Linked DNA regions of Homo sapiens: regions 1 and 3 are each linked to region 2. Evidence: promoter capture Hi-C in human tissues and cell types (Jung and others, 2019). All regions are on one chromosome and are shown on one strand. The core of a region is centred on a gene start or on the middle of the fragment in contact, and the rest is flanking DNA. Distances in the headings are between cores, read along the strand shown.

What was found. Contacts are between HindIII fragments. The study calls those that stand out against the background at their distance.
Region 1: a fragment that was not itself captured here is called in contact with the fragment with the promoter of PTX3 in region 2 in 6 of the 25 tissues and cell types used here (H1 embryonic stem cells, IMR-90 fibroblasts, bladder and 3 more).
Region 3: a fragment that was not itself captured here is called in contact with the fragment with the promoter of PTX3 in region 2 in 3 of the 25 tissues and cell types used here (H1 embryonic stem cells, IMR-90 fibroblasts and hippocampus).

The regions. Positions count from the first base shown.
Region 1 is chr3:157,369,840-157,374,282 of GRCh38, forward strand. The region is part of intron 7 of VEPH1 (ventricular zone expressed PH domain containing 1); the gene reads right to left. LOC101928236 (a long non-coding RNA gene) reads left to right here. Exons shown (of 10, transcript XR_007096141.1): 8 at 1,564-1,893. Among named protein-coding and RNA genes, the nearest start is that of PTX3, 65 kb to the right of the region's middle. The HindIII fragment of the contact is 3,862 bases long and covers 788-4,443 here.
Region 2 is chr3:157,433,852-157,438,234 of GRCh38, forward strand. It overlaps PTX3 (pentraxin 3), which reads left to right and starts at 2,999. Exons shown (of 3, transcript NM_002852.4): 1 at 2,999-3,212; 2 at 3,662-4,063. The coding sequence starts at 3,083. All of the region lies in intron 4 of VEPH1 (ventricular zone expressed PH domain containing 1), which reads right to left. The HindIII fragment of the contact is 4,814 bases long and covers 1,049-4,383 here.
Region 3 is chr3:157,330,546-157,335,312 of GRCh38, forward strand. The region is part of intron 9 of VEPH1 (ventricular zone expressed PH domain containing 1); the gene reads right to left. LOC101928236 (a long non-coding RNA gene) reads left to right here. Exons shown (of 10, transcript XR_007096141.1): 7 at 1-2,818. Among named protein-coding and RNA genes, the nearest start is that of PTX3, 100 kb to the right of the region's middle. The HindIII fragment of the contact is 7,357 bases long and covers 1-4,767 here.

The DNA.
Region 1 (4,443 bases), core at 1,469-3,968, 64 kb before region 2:
CTCCTAGAGCAAGGAAACACATCACAAATGTGAAAGTGCTGGCAGATCCATGGGTCCTGTATGTGTTTACTCATAGAGTGGTGGGGGCAGGGGCCAGTGGATTGGGCTCACTTAGGGGGTTGTTATTTCTTTTCCATTTGTCACTTTTGACCCCAGAGGTAATTTTACAGAAATCTTTGCCAGAGTTCTATAATCCCCTAAATATTAACTTGGCCTTAACTCAACACACCACATTACAAGAGGTTCAGATAATTTCTAGTCTGAACAGTTTCTGGTCTCTGTTGCCAAAGCAAAGTTTTTAAAAGTACATCTAGGGATTCCCAGGGGGAGGCCTAATTACCTCCCTCTTGTGTGAACGGGGACTTCCCTTAGAAACAAATTGGCCCTTGGGCTGCTCGCTGCTCTCACTAAGCGGGGAGATGAGACTATAAAGCTGGCAGGGGGTGGAAAGATTGGCAGCCTCTCTTCCTGGCTCCTTAAATCAAAGAAAAATAATATTAGTTAATGTTTGATGATCTTGGCCTACAATTCCATGTCCAGGATATGTACTCCTGCAGAGTTAAGCTTGTTAAAGGAGAAGTAGGAGAATGCAATGGACTAAATCCACATTGGAGTCCTGAATTCTTAGAATGCTACGTTCCTTACTCTTCAGTAATCTCTTGGGTCATCAGTCATCATAGAGAAGATCCCCCAACTTCACAGTGCTAGCATCTGTTTTGGGACTGCAATAAATAATGCTGCTGGAACACCTAAGCTGGAATGTTAAGGGAAAGGACAACAATAAGACTCAGTTCTTGGTATCTATTCTGCCTCTGACCTGCTCAGTGGGCAAAAGCAGAGATGGGCAGGTACCTAGTTATGTGGGGATCAGAATGTGATCATGCCAATGGTAGAACTCTGCTAAAATGAAATAACTCCATGGTTTACTTCATTTACACAAAATTTTAAAAGAGTTTTCAAAAGGAGACAGTTGTGGGGGAAACTGACTGAACAGAATCTTATGGGGAAAAGCTTAGGTTCATAACTCCAATTTCATGTTTATTAGTGATGCTATAAAACTCTTAAGGACTCTAAGTTTTATTTTTGTTATATAAAAATGGGATTGATATTACATCATCAGATTGCTGAAAGCATTGTATAAGATACTGGATTTGACAGTGTTGCTCACATAGAATGGGCATGAAAAATTCAAGGCATGGTAAAACCCTGAGTGGCTGCTGCTTAATGTGGACATTTGACACTGAAAGAAGGAGGTTTGCGCAAGTGTTACCAATCCTAGAAGATATGCTTTTCCTGCTCAAAGCCAGGGAGGACTATAAAATCCCTCCTCTTACTGCAGTATCTTAAACAGTGCGTACTAAAAGAGAGGGACTCTCCTACTCCATGAGCATACAAGAACTGGGATATAGAAATGGCCAATTAAAAATAAATCCCTGTACTTGAAATATGAATTCTGAGCAACTGCAGACAGAATTTCCTGAAATTAGAATGAAAATATAAAAGCCATGATACAAGGAAGGGACACTTCTAATTCAGATGCCCAATCATTTGCTCACTTTTCAGTTATTTAACCAACATGGGAGAGAATAAGACACGGAAAAGGGATCAGCAAAAAGTGCAAAGCCCCTGCTTTTCCTACTCAAAGTGAGATCCCTGGACCAGCGGCATCAGCATCACCTTGGAGCTTGTCAGAAGTGCAGAATCTCAGGTTCTGATCCCAGATCTACTGAATCAGAATGTGCACTTTAATACGGTCCCCAGGTGTCCAGTGACACGTTCAAATTTTGAGAAGCGATGGCCCAGACAATGAAATAAGAGAATCTGAAGTGGACCAGGGCAGAGGCCTTTTTCCTCAAGCAAGGCTGCTGAGGGTTTCACTAATTCTGTAGTAAGGTAAGACTTAATCTGTGGATTATTTGGAGTTGGTAGGCTTTGCCTTTTATCCTTTTGGGGATACATTCCGAGGTAAAGGTACATTTTCGGGTTTTGCTGCTGGCAGATACTGGTTCAGATGGACCCCGAATCTTTAGATTCCTGAGACGACTGGGCATATCAGGTGAGCAGTAGCCTTAACAGAAGACGGCCGCCCCATCCTAATGAACTGCCACCCAGATATAACACAAGTTACAAAATCACTCTGTAAATTATAAAGGACTGTAAAAAACGTAGAGTAGGAATATCATCAAAGCACTGTCAATCAAGAGGGAGACCTGTAAGGCAATGTGCTCTTCTTTGTCTAGGCTGACTTTATCGTCTGGGCACAGGAGCAAGCAATAGGGTCTGGCCATGAGGATTAAAGAGCTAAGACATTGTCACTCTTGGCATTTGACACTGGAAGAGCAGGAAAAATGGTTAAAATTTTCCTATTTGATACATCTTCTCATAGTCTTCATCTCAAATATGATACTGTAACCCAATTTTAATTGATAGAAACATAGTTACCCAGAAATGGAGGATATACTTAATCAAAAACACATCAATAACTGACCTGGGGATAGAACTCCTACATAAAATTCTGTGATTCAATTCCTAGTCTACCTAGAATTCAGCCCTTACCTATAGCAAAGTTTATCTAACAGCCTTCAGGCTGCCAACTAATGAAAAGCCTATCTTTTGCTTTATGATGAATATGAATAATATTAAGAACCATTTTTCCTCAACTGTAACCCATCTTAGAGTAGCTGTATCTCAACCATGGCCACACTGGTGTGTGTTCATCACCTTTCATTTATTAAATCTCTTTCCTTTAGGTCCCAGAAGAAAGTTTAGGGAATAAAATATTAGGTATTAAAGAGAGCTCTCAGACTTAGTCTGGGTCCAGCTGTATCCAACATTTAATACGGTAGCTTTTAAACTCACTGTAGTAAAGAACTATTTTTTTTTTAAATTTTCATGTCACAGACCAATATTTTTGTAAAAATAGCAAAAATAAACTACTAGAGAAACGCAATGAATAAAACAAGACATACAACGTCCACTGATCAGGTACTTGGATATTACAGCAATGTTAAATTGCTATAAAAGTTCTAACTTCTTATTTTCTTATTTTTAATATCTGCAATCGCTTCATCACAGTCTGATAAGAAACAGTTTGCAGATGGGCACTGGTCTAGTGGATATGCCAACACCTATTATAATGCACACCTGTAACAAAGTGCTAATGCTACTCATTAACATTTACAGAGGGCTTTCTATGTATAGTCTTCACTGTTCTAAATCTGGTACATGAATTGCTTCTCACACAATCAAGGGAGGCTGACCCTATTAGTAACTCCATTTACAGATGAGGAAACTGAGGCACACTTAAGGTCACTTAGCTAAACCAACATTAAATCCAACTGTTTGCCTCCAGAGCTCTCACTTAACACTCCACTCTGCACACTTCCTCTAAGTAGGTGTGATTCAGGTTACATCTGAATCTACCCCAGGAATAAGTAATACATATTAGGGCACTGGTGATATAGCACGGTAACCAAGAAGAGTTATTACAATCTGATATCTCTGAATAACATCCTGTGGGAATCAGACACCAGAATAGAGTTGATATATAGTCACGGGAGCAACCCTTTGTATTAATTGGAAAAATGAATTTTGGCACCCTCTTTTAACACAAACTAAAAAGGTGTTCAAAACTCAGAAAATGTCATGCAAATGGCAACTTTAAAGTTCAATTATGACAGATACTAAAAAGGAATAGGGAGCATTTGGGGAACCAAAATAGTGAATAGCTAGGTCATCAGGGTCCAGGAAGAAGTGTCTGAGCACCAGCTGGCACCCTGGCCCTCCTCTCACGTGGGTTGTAGAGGGTCAAGGTCCTCTTACCTCTTCTCCCACAAACACCCTTTTTCCTCATTCCCTAGGCTAGAACTTTGGTGTTCTCTGTCTTGCTTGAAATGGGAAGCCAGCGCATGGGTGCCTCATGAAAAGCTTTCTTTTTTTGTGTGCCCTGTGTTTTGAACATTGCTATGTTACAGAAAATGGACCTGGTTCCCCATGAAGCTGATATTACATTGCCCGCACTCCATACTGGGGCTGCCCGAGTCTCTACCCTACTGTGTCCTTACATGGCAGAGCCAGCCTGTCTGAGGTCTCACACTCCCTGGGCCTGCTTCATTGTCTCCAAAGCTGATAACAATGTCTCCTACCTACATCTCGTGCTGATAGATGAATTCCTGAAATGCCTTTAAAGACCTTCACATCACCCTAAATGCTGCGTTAAGGGAGGACAACTGGTGGAGTAAATGAATAACAGCTGGAACATAAATGGTACCACATGTCAGACTTAACCTCTTCAGTAAGAAGACGGGCCCAAAACCGAAGCCTTTCCTTCCTTTTCCATGCACAGAGGAGTAACAACAGCCACAGCTACTGCCACAAATGGCTGTTATGATTTTCTTTTTACACAAGTGATCACCATAGACCTCTCTAGATTGAAAAGAGATA
Region 2 (4,383 bases), core at 1,749-4,248:
GTACTCTATATACTTCATTATATCAAGCTTTAAGTTATGTAGTTTAAGTTTCTGTATCCTTTGGCAGGCTTTTTTTTCGCATTTGAATGATCAGTTATGATATATGTGAACTTATCAGCTTTGTTAAAATCTCCCTCCATGATTATGGATTTGCCCATTTCTCCTTATAATTCTGTCAACCTTTGGTTTATATTTTTTGAAACTATATTACTAGATAATTCAGAGATATCTTCCTGTTAAAGTATTTCTTTGTATCATAATTTAACTATCCTCTTTTGCCTAAGTCTATTTTTTACTGATATTACTACTGCTATGCTAGCTTTTTTGAATAATACTTGCTTGGTGTGTTCTCTTCCTCCCCTCCAATTTAAAGCTTTTAACTTTTAACATTTCTACTTTATGTTTTATGCATAGCTTTTGTAAGTGATGTATAGCTGGATTTTTAAAATATTTCTTCTCTCTCTCTCTCCTTTTCTTTTTTTCAGGGTCTCTTTCTGTCGCCCAGGCTGGAACGCAGTGGTGTGATCACAGCTCACTGCAGCCTCCACTTCCCAGGCTCAAGTGATCCTCCTGCCTCAGCCTCCTGAGTAGCTGAGACTACAGGTGCATATCACCACACCAGATTAATTTTTAAATTTTTTGTGCAGATGAGGGTCTTGCTATGTTGATCAGGCTGGTCTCAAACTCCTGGCTTCAAGTGATCCTCCTACTTTGGCCTCCCAAAGTACTGGGATTCTGAACGTGAGCCCCGACTAAAATATTTCTATATGACAAATAGAAATATTTGTCTCTTAACTGGAAAATGTGTTTCATTAATATTTATGGTAATTATTGGTATATTTTGATTTAATTTTAGCAAATAATATTGTACTTTTAACTTATCCTTCTCTGTGCTTTTCTTTCCTCCTTCATTAATTTTTTTTTCATAGATCAAGTCTTTCTTTAAAAATTCCCCCTGCACCTTCTATTCGGATGCCTATGTCCATTTGGTAGTTGTCCTTAAACTTATAACAAATATTTTTGAGCAAAGCAAAATTAATTAATTTCTTTTTCGTCCTCCTGAACAATGAAATGATTTTAGAATCCTATTACTGAACATAAAAGCAGCACATTTTAGATTATTTCCTTATATCTGTCTTCCAGTTCATTAATATTCTTTTCAGCTTTGCCTAATTTGCCACTTAATCCATGCCTTGAGCTTTTAAAATTTTCAATTAACTTTTTTTTTTAATTCTAGAAGTTTTATTTGGTTCTTTAAAAAAAATCACCTAGCCTTTTTCTTTTTGACAATGTCTTATTCTTTTCTCATATTTCCAATTCCTTCTTTTAGAGCTTCAGTAGTTTTAAACATATTTATTTTCTAGTTTTTTGGCTGATATTTCAACTAAATGCAGTTCTTGGGGAGAGGTGTCTAATCCTTTTTGGTTTCTGCTGATTCTCATTTATAGTGGTTTGCTTCCTCATATGTTCAAATATCATTGTGAATTCTTTTTTGTTTTCACAGTGGCAGATAGTATATATTTGAATTCTAAACATATCTGAGGGCAGGCCCAATTTCACAAACTCAAAGGGACCTTGTAGAGTTCAAAGAGAGACATGATTGCTTCCTACCTCTTTGTGCTAGGGCAGAGTGGGATTGTACCTACTGAAATACAGTAGGTAACCCTGTGAGGGTCCTGGCTTTCATGAGGATCTCCCTTCTAACTCTCCACCTTTGGCCTAAGCTTTGCTTCCACATGGTCATCAACATTTGGTGGTTATAGAACTAATAACCCCTATCTCACTTCACTCCTATGCCAGAGGGGCCCTAGCATCAGCTCATGGGATTGTTGTTTTTGCTTTCCTCTCTATCTTTGGCTCCGGGATTTTCCCCTTACTTTAATGGGAGCTCATCTGTACCTTTTAAGTTTTTATTAATATCATGTGAACACAGACCTGTATATATTGTTAGAAGCAGAAATCTCTAAGTTTACTTTTAAAACATGATCCTTGCCTCGAAACCTTGTAGAATAATATAATGTCCACATAATACCAAGTTATGAAAAGAAACATACCTAAATAACTAAATAAGTATATTCCTTTTTTCCCCCAGCTTTTTTTCCCCATTCTAGGTTTACCCAGTTGTACTGTGTTGTTTGTCATAGGCCGGGTGAGGTGGCTCACGTCTGTAATCCTAGCAATTTGGGAGGCGAAGGCGGGTGGATCGCCTGAGGTCAGGAGTTCGAGACCAGCCTGGCTAACATGGTGAAACCCTGTCTCTACTAAAAATACAAAAATTAACTGGGTGTGGTGGCGGGTGCCTGTAATTCCAGCTACTTGGGAAGCTGAGGTAGGAGAATCGCTTGAACCCAGGATGCGGAGGTTGCAGTGAGCCGAGATCACACCATTGCACTCCAGCCTGGGCAACAAGAGCGAAATTCAGTCTCAAAAAAAAAAATTATCTATAAAAGTATAGGTGCAACTCCTCAAGTATTAAAGACAAGATAGCTCGGATTGGACTTGACTTTCAGAGCCATAACTATTCTTAATATGTTGGTTTATCTTGGAATCAGACCATTTTCAGTTTCAACCTGTAAAACAGTGTACAAAGGAAACATGGAAAGTTTTCTATATATAAAGGGTTGTGAAATAATAACAGCTCACAGAAAATGCTGAAATGATGATTTGCTTCAGTACCCTCTGAAATTTCTCCCCTACCACCCCTCCTTCATCCCCATTGCTATCAATTCAAATTACAACAGCTAATTCTCAGGAGAACAGTAGAAGCCCAGTTTCTCTCCTCTTTCCCCTCTGACCCTCCTCCAATTAATCTGACTGCAGCGTAAACCTTTGCGGTTTAATATTGTGCAACTTCCACATTTCCCTCGCTCTCCCACCCAGCCCCCTCCCCCACCAAATTCAGGGGAACTCCCGTTACCGCAGTGCCACCAGCATTACTCATTCATCCCCATTCAGGCTTTCCTCAGCATTTATTAAGGACTCTCTGCTCCAGCCTCTCACTCTCACTCTCCTCCGCTCAAACTCAGCTCACTTGAGAGTCTCCTCCCGCCAGCTGTGGAAAGAACTTTGCGTCTCTCCAGCAATGCATCTCCTTGCGATTCTGTTTTGTGCTCTCTGGTCTGCAGTGTTGGCCGAGAACTCGGATGATTATGATCTCATGTATGTGAATTTGGACAACGAAATAGACAATGGACTCCATCCCACTGAGGACCGTAAGTTCACTTTAACTGTTTCTCTGCTAACCCTGACTACATATCCACCTCTTGGTCTAAATAACACACATATACTTTGTGGCCAGTGAGACAAGTTAAAAATTTATAGCTTGTTATGCAAAAGTGAGAAGCACTTGAAGAAAGATGGAGGTTTCAAAGTTATTTCTGTAACGTACATAATGGGTTGAATCATATCAAATCGTCAATATTTGACTGTTTTGAGCTACATAACCGGCGATTTCATAGGGTACAACTTAATCTATACCTGAATGAATGATTTCTGTCGTTTCTGAGACATTTACATGCTGTTTTTCGGAGGTGTCCTTAAAGGGAAGGGGAATGCCAGGAACGGGCTGCAACTTGGCACCACCGAGGGAGGTCAGCTTTTACAAAGCACATCCAAGGCAGGCCTGGGCGGGCTGCTAACGTGTGTGTATCCCGTACTCTAGCCACGCCGTGCGCCTGCGGTCAGGAGCACTCGGAATGGGACAAGCTCTTCATCATGCTGGAGAACTCGCAGATGAGAGAGCGCATGCTGCTGCAAGCCACGGACGACGTCCTGCGGGGCGAGCTGCAGAGGCTGCGGGAGGAGCTGGGCCGGCTCGCGGAAAGCCTGGCGAGGCCGTGCGCGCCGGGGGCTCCCGCAGAGGCCAGGCTGACCAGTGCTCTGGACGAGCTGCTGCAGGCGACCCGCGACGCGGGCCGCAGGCTGGCGCGTATGGAGGGCGCGGAGGCGCAGCGCCCAGAGGAGGCGGGGCGCGCCCTGGCCGCGGTGCTAGAGGAGCTGCGGCAGACGCGAGCCGACCTGCACGCGGTGCAGGGCTGGGCTGCCCGGAGCTGGCTGCCGGCAGGTAAGGAGGCAAGCGGGGCCGGGACCTCCCACTGCGGCTTTGTTCCGGGAGCGCGCGTAACGGCAAGCCAAGCCAGGCAACCTTCTAGGGGAAGCTTTCATGGGAAGCGCGCGCGCGCGCGCGCACACACACACACACACACACACACACACACACACCCCTATTTCTGCATGCGCGGTCACAGAGCTCAGGCACACCATACAAGGCGGGAAAATTGGCTTTAAAAAAGTATTCCTCAGTCCTAAGGAGCCCTAAAGAGAGTTGTGGAGGTAACCATCACAGTCTTGAAATAGACGTCTAGGGCCCCTTACACCCGATCC
Region 3 (4,767 bases), core at 2,191-4,690, 100 kb before region 2:
TGGACTGGACTTCTGGGTTGATAGAAGTAGCAGCAAATGGGATAAACAATGAAGGGTCTTTCTCAGGATTTCGATGGCAAAAAGGCAAGGGGTAGCTCAAGCACTAAGTTTCAGTAAGGAGCCTAAAAAGACCACGTGCTCCAGCTGTAGGGATCATGGAGCCTTGTCTTGCTTATGCCAGCCCTCGCCACCTATCAAGAGCAGCAATCTCCTTCCCATGGCAGGTTTTGCCCCAGCCACATCCAGAACCAAGGGAGGCAGGCCTGGTGGTTAACTGAGGTTCCGAGGCCACTATGTTAACAGGCTGGAAATAGTCTGGGTTGGGAATAAACAAAGATGGAGATACATAAACAGTAAGCTATGGGTCCTCATTCTTCTATCCTGGTGGGACCCACCCCATCCTTTTGTTGGAATAGAAGCCACCTCTGAATCCTACCTAGCTGCTGCTAGTGCTCTCCTATCCGGAGATTGGCCCTGTGCATGGATATCCTGTGTTCACCTGAATGGATCTTGCTGGATGGATGAAACATGACTTGCAGCCAAGAACTGCATCTGTCCTGGAGCTCTTGCTGCCCTGAAAATTTCATCCCTTCAGATAGGATGCTGGGGCTCATCTGCAGGGCCATTGCTAACAGCCACACAGGCTTTCCACCACATGAGTCCAGGAGGGACATTATTCCCACAGGCCACAGTGTAAGTGATACCGTCTGGAGTTCGGCAATACAGAAGCTCTGTTTATCCAATGCAAGTGAGCCACACTCCTAGGACAGTGTGATTTGAGGTGGTATGGTGATCCTTGGGGGAGACTGACATTCTATTCTAGTTAGTCTCTTCTCATACAACACTTCTTACCCCCATTGCGTATGCCTATGATATTCTTTACTTCTTTCAGCCCCATGCATGCCTTGTGGCCAAGACTCTGCTTTACGATTCAACCAAACCTCACTTCACTTACTAAATCTAGCACCAGGAATGAAAGACAGGGAGAGCGGGATATATTTGAGAAATTGGATTTAACTCTTCTTCCAACAGAAGATGACTGCAGAGGACCGCAGGACACCTCTGGCCAGGGCAATAGCCTAGCATAGCACAGTAAATTTGCACTGAGAGAGAATTACACTTCTTGCAGCTCTTTCATGGTTTGTGTATGTTCAATGATAATCAGGCAAATAAATAATAAGATAAATAGAAATATGGTTGTACTTGCAGATTTGAATAACAATGGTCTGTTCTTTAAGGTCTGAAACTTTATCAACATTGTTCTGAGAGCTGAGAGCACACTTCCATTGTACATAAGCTTTATTATCACAGGACAAGGTCAGCTCAGCCCACAGTACAGGGGCTAATAGGAAACACCATGCTGCTACACAACCTGGGCTCAAATTTCAGGTCTATCTCAGGTCTGCCAGTTATGTGATCTTAAGCAAATTTTGTTTTCTATATTTCAGTTTCCACTTTCACAATTTGGGAATAGTAATATGTACCTTACAGGGTCAAATAAAACATTTAAAATACTGCCCAGTACATGGTGCTTGCGGCTACTGCTGGCATAGAAGGGTTAACCCAGACCATTCCATAATTACACTAATTGTATGTGTTTATTTGTGGAGGATATGCTGCATATTAAGTATGGAGTTTATCACAGAATATGTAGTCATATATTTAAAACAAATTCTTATTGCAGTAAAATACATGTAACATAAAATTTACCATTTTGACCATTTTAAAGTGTACAGTTCAGTGGCAGTAAGTACATTTATGATGTTGTACACCTATCACCACTATCTAGTTCTAGAACTTTTCCATCACCCTAAATGGAACCCCCACATCTGTTAAGCAATTATTCTTCATTTCCCCTCCTCCTAGCTCTTGGCAACCAAAAATCTGCATTTTGTCTCTATAGATTTGCCTATTCTGGATATTTTATATAAATGGAATCATATAATGAGTGGCCTTCTGTGTCTGGCTTCTTTCACTTATTATGATGTTTTCAAGGTTCATCCATGTTGTAGCATGCATCAGTATTTCATTTTTTTTGCATGGCTAAATAACATTCCATCATATGAATATACTACATTTCATTTGCCTCCTCATTCATTCATGGACAATTGAGTTGTTTCTACCTTTTGGTCATTGTGAATAGTGCAGCTATGAACATTCAAGTACATGTTTTGGTTTGAACACTTGTTTTCAATTCTTTGGAGTATATTCCTAAGAGTGGAATTGTTGGGTGGCATGGCAATTCTGTGTTCAACTTGTAAGGAATGGTCATATATTTTAAAATAATTATTTCCTTATTCTTACAATGTCCAAACTTAAAAATAAAACTGTCATATTAATTATGAAGGAGGTGAATCTGAAGAGTGACATTTGCCATCACTTTTCCAGTCACCTGATTGTACACACAGATGAGGAGCAGTGCTTACAAACAATACTCAAATCAGGATCATTTCTGATTGGGTGGCTGACTGCTTACAATTACAGAAAAGTGTTATTGTGGCAATGCTGTTCATATTTTTGGATTGATTTCAATGTTGTTTCTGATATTTCCAGGAATTTGGCCAGTAATACTTCCCAAAGTAGGAATAATGAAAAATATAAATTATGAAACTAACTGAAAATTGAACTTATCTTTAAATGACTATATTGATACTTTTAGTTCTCCAGTGAATTTTTGGTATTCCCTAGGAAGAATGCACCTTCCAATAAGTGATGAGTGTCACTCAGTTCTGGGATGAGGAATGTTTTGCAGTGCTTATCCGATCACAAAATCCGCCAGGGGAAGTTCACTCGGAAGACCTCAACTTTTTCCTACCAGGTACTCTTGATGGTTGCCAAATACAAGTTAGATGTCCAAACATTAAGAATACAAAGTAGTCAATGTCAACATGATCAGAAAGGAATCTGGGATATTTTCAGAGGAGTTAGCACAGTTTCTAGACATGAAAGTAATTTTGGAATTTACATGAATTTTAAATCAAATACACACACATACCTCTCTATATATTTGCATGACACTAATGTAGTTGATTTCTGGCAACAATACAGAGCCACTTTGTGGTCACACTGAGTCAGTGGAAGCCCATATGGTAGAAATAAACACTTGGCTCTTCCAAGCACAGATTTATCAAAAGTTGTACAGAGGCAAATAAGGCAGGCAAGCCGTGATCCCCTGCAGGTACCATTCCATGTGCTACCAATTACTTTGCAACTCTGCAAAATGCATAACAGTAACCAGATATAGGGCACAGAAAATTTTAGGAAATTCTATTAATAAACTCCACTAAAATGGGTCCGTTTACATTTTTTTTTCCCCAGAGGAAGGAAGGATAAGCCTAAGATCATGTATATGTGAGTCACCCATTGCATTGCTCTCTCTGGTTGGCAGTTCTGAACTAAGACCTTCTGGGCTGGCCACCATCAGGCATCAGAAGAACACTCATGGGAGAGTTATATGTATTTACCAGGAGGTTTATTATGTCCGATATGTTGGTGCAGGGTATATAGGACCTCCACATAGTGTATATCAACTCCACGTAGTGTGTATCAAACTCATTGACGCTCCTGTTAGAAGTGGCCTTTAGCAACTACTAACTAAGCCTGACTTTCCTAAGATGCCAACCGTCTATTCCCTGTTGACTTCATGATCATGTGGCTGACATGAGAAAGTTAGGGGGCATTTTATTTCAGTCACTGCTGCTAAATGAGGTGTTACTGAATAGAAAGCAACTAATTTTGTGCAGCCAATTCTCGGGATATACCATGAATTTGAAAGCCAATTTTAGAAAATAATTCTAGTCTTAAGGAAATTCAGTTCTTCAGGCTACAGGTAAGACTGGAAGCCTCTGAGGAAGGCATTTTCATGTGGCTAATTGTACTCTTAGAGTACAAGTTCTGAAAAATGTTACAGATTACTTGTCATTAATGCAGCTGCTGTAACAACATGAACAGCCATTAAGCTTGAGGAAGGTTGATTTCATTTGTTATCCTGCACTGGGGAAATGTCTACCAGCATCACCATCATTAACAAATACTCTGAGGACTTACCAAGGATGAGACATTGGGCTGAGTGTTAAAACTATAAAAAGATTCAGAGTTTTACAGCTTAAAAAAGAGATGTCAGAAGTATATGAATATTTAAAAAGAGCAATCCATGATCAAGTGCCAAATGAGAAGTACTGGGAATCACGGGGGTGTAGAAAGTAAGAAATAGGCTAGCCCTGATGAATGCTAGGCCTAGATAAATAAAATAGCGGGCACCTAGAGGAGCAAGAGTTTGGGTAAAGGCATGGAGGTGGGGATGAGAATGGCATGTCCGAGAAGGCAGTGTGGGATAAAGAAGCAGTGGCAAGATCATAGAGCCAGGGCCAAGTCCTGATTCTGCCTTCTACTGGCCATATTACCTTGGACAGGTTATTCGCCTTTCTATTTTCTCATTCATAAAATGAGGACAGTGCTAACTACACTACAGACTTGTCACCAGGATTAAATAAAATAATTTGTTCACCTTTTTAAAATTATCTATCACCTTCATCAATATTATAATGCTCAGAGTCAATGAAATTATCTCCAAAAAGCTGCTGTCAAAAAGCCCAAAGTGTGTTGGCACTGGGAAATTGGGAGGTGTTTTTTTCTTTGACATTCTCAAATACAGTAGACCACTGGGCAACATAGTAGGACCACATCTCTATGAAAAAAAAAAAAATGCTGGGTGTAGTGGCCTGTGCTTGTAGTTCCAGCTACTTTGGGGGCTGCGGTGGGAGGATG